2 separate regions of the Homo sapiens genome follow, and region 2 is linked to region 1. Evidence: promoter capture Hi-C in 16 types of primary human blood cells and fetal thymus (Javierre and others, 2016). All regions are on one chromosome and are shown on one strand. The core of a region is centred on a gene start or on the middle of the fragment in contact, and the rest is flanking DNA. Distances in the headings are between cores, read along the strand shown.

The links. Contacts are between HindIII fragments. The CHiCAGO score rates a contact against its expected background, and 5 or more counts as called.
Region 2: a fragment that was not itself captured here is called in contact with the fragment with the promoter of SGF29 in region 1 in 2 of 17 cell types (M2 macrophages and M0 macrophages); the score reaches 6.6 in M2 macrophages.

Annotation. Positions count from the first base shown.
Region 1 is chr16:28,552,649-28,555,225 of GRCh38, forward strand. It overlaps SGF29 (SAGA complex associated factor 29), which reads left to right and starts at 1,272. Exons shown (of 10, transcript NM_138414.3): 1 at 1,272-1,449. RefSeq lists an enhancer at 1,241-1,560 and a silencer at 1,581-1,700. The HindIII fragment of the contact is 18,994 bases long and covers 1-2,577 here.
Region 2 is chr16:28,612,784-28,615,360 of GRCh38, forward strand. LOC107984835 (a long non-coding RNA gene) reads left to right here. Exons shown (of 2, transcript XR_007065036.1): 2 at 2,555-2,577. It overlaps LOC124903674 (a long non-coding RNA gene), which reads right to left and starts at 1,748. Exons shown (of 2, transcript XR_007065047.1): 1 at 1,421-1,748; 2 at 1-1,185. It also overlaps a transcript of SULT1A1 not described here. RefSeq lists enhancers at 1-146, 394-944, 945-1,494, 2,483-2,577. The HindIII fragment of the contact is 7,854 bases long and covers 1-2,577 here.

The DNA.
Region 1 (2,577 bases), core at 22-2,521:
AGAACTGCAAGTGTGATGGAAGAAAATGATGCATTAATTTTGGGGTTAACATAGTTTCAGTGCTAACGCCTGAGATTCTCTAATAAACAGAAAAATACTGACGGGGCTGAGGTTGGTGGCTCATGCCTGTAATCCCAGCACTTTGGGAGGCTGAGGCAGGAGGATCGCTTGAGCCCAGGAACTCAAGACCAGCCTATGCAACATAGCAAGACCCCCATCTCTACCAAAAAAAATTTAAAAATCAGCAGAATGTGCTGGTGTGTGCTTGTAGTCCTAGCTACTCAGGAGCCCTGATGGCACCACTGCACTCCAACCTGGACAACAGAGCGAGACCCTGTCTCAAAGAGAAAAAAAAAGAAACATGTGATGGCCAGGCACTGTGCTAGGTACTAGGAATACACAGGTGAACACAAGATGATCCCAATCTCATAGGACTTGCAAGTTTATCAAATAATCAACAAATAATTACAGACATTTGTAGGTTATGTAAGAAACTTTAAGATACCAGGATGGCTTTCGATAAAATACCATTGAGGCTACATGTCCATTGCACGTCCATATCCTTAGTACTTTCCTGAGAAGATTCCCTAGAAGTGCGATTTCTGGGTCTAAAGATCTGCTTGTTTTTTGTTTGTTTGTTTTTTTGAGATGGAGTTTCCCTCTTGTCACCCAGGCTGGAGTGCAATGGTACAATCTCCAGTCACTACAACCTCCGCCTCCTGAATTCAAGCGATTCTCCAGCCTCAGCCTCCCCAGTACCTGGGATTACAGGCACCCGCCACCACGCCCGGCTGATTTTTGTATTTTTTAGTAGAGACGGGGTTTCACCATGTTGGCCGGGTTGGTTTCAAACTCCTGAACTCAGGTGATCCGCCCGCCTTAGCGTCCCAGTGTTGGGATTACAGGCGTGAGCCACCGCGCCCGGCCTGTTTTTAATTAATTTTTTAACAACAGACTTTTATTTTTTAGGGCATTTTTAGGTTCACAACAAAATTGAGCAGAAAGTACAGTTTTCATATTACCCCTGCGCCCACCCACCTCCAGCAAGCAGCAATCTGTTCGCTTTCAAGTTTTATTTATTTATTTATTTATTGCATTTTGTTTTAAATAGAGTCTGGGGAAATGGGAGAAAACGCTGAAAACGCACAAGCACTTTGGTTGGTTAAATTAGGGTTCCGCCAAGAGCCGGAGCGGTGTGCCAAGTGAAAACTACATTTCCCACGGGGCAGCGGGTCACGTCACAGAGGAACGACTACGCATGCGTGCAAGGTCCTCCGCGCGCGACTACGCTCATAAAAGGAAAAAAAAGCGTGTGCGGTTCTCGACGTGCCGCCAATCTTCGAACGCAGGTCTGTGATCATCCGCAGACTCCGAAAAAGGGTTCGAGGAACGCGCCTGCTCCCCTCGTCGCAGTTTCCAGCCCGACGAGCTTGTTTTGTCCCGGACTCGGTAGGTGGCGACGGGCCGTGGCCTGAGACCTCCGGCGAAACGCGGGAGCGAAGGGCTGAGTCCTCCCTCCGCGCCGCGGCTCCCGACCTCCCTGAGGCGGCGCTCTAGGGGCGGTGCGCACGCGCTCTGGGCGGGAGGGGGGCGGGGCTCGTGGGGGTGGGGGCGGGAGAGGAGGGCGGGGCCGGGGCTCGGGGAGGGCGGGCCCTGCGCCCGGCCGCTCGAGGTCTGCGCTTGCGTGCTTCCATCCCCGGCGAGGGTGGGAAACAGCGACACGCTGGGCTCGGCACGGACGCAGCTTCCAGGTGGGGTACTCGGACCCGGGTCACGAAGATGCGGACAGAGGATGGGCCCCGAACTCCAGCACTTATTTTATGATTTGCACAAAAATTTTGTATATATATATAGTTCTTAACAAGATACACTAACAGCTCGTCGTTTGCCCAGGAGGCTCAACCTCCCGCCTCGGCCTCCCAAAGTGTGGGGAGTATAGGCGTGAGCCCCCGCGCCCGGCCAAAAAATGCCCGTCTTAAGAACAACAAAACAGCCTCCTTCACCCTCGCTATCCTCCAGTTACCTCCTCCTCGGCTCCGGTTTGCAGCCAAAGGCCTTAGTCTACCCTCACTAATGCCTTTTCTCCTCCAAGTCTTGAACCCTTGAGCCTCTAGTCAGGCTTTGGTCTCCACCACTCCACTAAAAAGGCTTCTTGTCAAAGCCACCAGTGATCTCTAGGTGGCCAAATGCATTGTTAAGTTAGGTCTCAGTCCTGTTCAGCATTTGATGCTGTGGATCACTGCCCCTCCTTGAAACACTGTTTTCATTTGGCTTGCTGAACGTTCTCTTCCTTTGCCTCTGCTCTCTCTGGCTTCTCCTCTGCTGATTCTAACCTAGGCATCATCTCACATTTTTGTTTTTATTAGAGACACGTTCTCTGTTGCTCAGACTGGAGAACAGTGGTGTTATTACAGCTCACTGCAGCCTCAAACTCTTGGGCTTAAGCAGTCCTCCTAACCAAAGCCTCCCCAAATGCTGGAATTACAGGCATGAGCCACCGCAATCCCAGTTTCACATTTTAAATGTAAATACTGGCCAGGCGCGGTGGCTCATGCGTGTAATCCTAGCACTTTGGGA
Region 2 (2,577 bases), core at 50-2,549, 60 kb after region 1:
TGCCCCTGGGACTAAGCTGGTGCAGGTCCTGGGAGCATCAGCAGTGATTGATTGAGTCACAGCCTCACCACTGCAGCCAGACCTGAACTTCCTCACAGCTCAGCAACACCCAGCAGGTCACTGAATGTCCCCAGGGCAAGTCCTCTACTCACTCACTATTAGCGGGTGCTCAGTAGAAGGCACCCGTTTTCCATTATTTTATTAACTATTTCTTGGCTATCGTCTCTGTGCAGGACTTTGTTCTACAGCAGTGACAAGAGCTGCCCTCGGGCAATGTAGTGCAAAGGTTGGGGTGGGAGAGACTAACGAGAGTCATAAAGCACCTAGCCGGTGAGATAGTAAGTATTCAGGTAAAGAAGCAGACGGGGAAGTACACAAGAGGTGCAATTTTATTTTATATTTTTAGAGACAGTTTCTTGCTCTTTTGCCCAGGCTATAGTGCAGTGGAGCGATCAGAGCTCACTGCAGCCTCCAACTCCTGGGACCAAGCGATCCTCCCACCTCAGCCTCCCCCCGTAGCTGGGACTACAGGCATATGCCACCATGCCCGGCTTCTCAGAGCTGCAATTTTAAATCGGGAGATAGAGAAGACCTCCCTGTGGAGGTGGCAGGTTATCAAGATAGGTGTAGAGAAGAACCTTCCAGTCAAAGGGAAAAGGCAGGTCCTGCTGTGCTCAGGAATGGCCAGAAATACTATCATCCCCATCTTAGAGACGGGGACAGGGCCGCAAAAGTGTCAGGGCGTTTCCTGGCTCCTCAACAAACAGCTGGATCCGAAGTGGTCTGGGGGATGAGCCGCCCTGCCTGGGGCGGACCTCCCCTGGAGCTCAAGGGCTCGCAGGGCGCACAGGCCTCTTGGGCCCCGGGTCCGGCTCAGGCTCGGGCTTGGTGCCAGCAAAGGGACCTGCGCGGTGCCCTGGGGCCGGGGAGGCCCGAAGGCCATCGCCCGTGCGGCGCGGCGCATAGAGGTCCCGGCGGAGGTCGGGGTGCAGCGGGAGTAGGAGGCGCGCCTATGGAGGGGGTTCCAGGCCCACTCCAACAGCGGCAGGATACGGAGGAGTTAGGGCGGCTCCAGGCAGGGGGGCGGACCCCAAGCCCTTGCCCGCCTGCCGCCGCCTGGTCTCCTTCCTTACCCGAAGGGTTGCCACGGCGGGCGGGAAGCCGTGCACGACGAGCACTTTCTCCCTGGGGAGGAGAACGGGGGTGTCCCTGTGAGCCCTGCCGCGCCCAACCGCGGGTCCCCTCCAATTCCACCCGAGAGCGGGGTCCTCACTGCCGGCTTCAGCCTAGCCCCAGGCCCTGCCCCTAAATGAAGTCACGCCCCCTGCACCTGCCCACCTCAGGCCGCGCCTCCAGCCCAGGTACCCACCTGTCCCCCCTCTTCTCTCTCCTGCGCTCCATCCGACCCCAGCATGCCCACCAAGACCCCTACGCTGGCCCGCATCCTGGATCATCACCTCCGCCCCAGCCAGCTCCTCCCCGGAGTTCCACCGCCAAGATTCCCAGGGCACTGTCTCCCCGTCATGCTCCTCCTCTGTGACAGTCCCGTCCCCACCCTGGACTCCCCACCCATGTCACAGGCATGCCCTTCCCTCTCATCAGGCTTGTGCCCAGCGGGGTCCGCCTCCTCCAGGAAGCCTTCCTCCTGGCACAGAGACCCTTCCGGTCTCACCAGGAGTGCAATGGCCCGATTTGGCTCACTGCAACCTCTGCCGCTGCCCCCTGCCCCATCTTTCAAGCAATTCTCCCGCCTCAGCCTTTTGAGTAGCTGTAATTACAGGCACGTGCCACCATGCCCGACTAATTTTTGTATTTCTATTACAGACGGGGTTTCACCATGTTGGTCAGGCTGGTCTCGAACTCCTGACCTCAAGTGATCCAACCGCTTTGGCCTCCCAATGTGTTGGGTTTACAGGCTTGAGCCACCGCGCCAGGCCTGGGCCCTGCCTTTTGTGTGGCCCCCATTGTGCTGCTGGACCTGACAAGCAGGGCTGACAGTGAACCCCATATAAACGTGGCCCTGATGACGGGGGTTCAGGCCGTAGAGCAGGTAGATGCTGAAGAAGCGCCCCGGCCTAGCCGCGACTCCCGTGGAACTCTTTGAATTTTAGGAAATTCTCCTTAAACACACTTCTGGTTCAGCACCGACATCAAGAAGAGAGCCTCTCCACCACCTGCAAACTCACTTTGTCCCTCCCTGGTTCTTCCCGCTGGGCGCCCACTATGCTGCGGTCTCGCCCATCTGTAGCTGAGCCCAGCAGCCCCTGTAGGACACCTGGCCGAACGGGTCACAGTCCTGCTGGGCTCACTCGGGAGATGGAGGCTCCCAGGGGCTCCTCCAACAGCCCCAGGGCTGCTCTCTGGTCACTGCACCTGCCTGGGCTGCCACTCTGCTTCTCATCTGCACAGCAGGAGAAAAACTCCACAGAGCGTGCTGTGGGCGGGGCCGGCTGTGCAGGGAGCACCGGGTCCTTGCCCTGCCCCTGTCCTCCACACTCCCCTACAGGGACTGTGCCCCTGGCTGCATCCTGCATTTTCCTCCTTTTGTCCACAGGTATGAGGTAGATGACATTGATG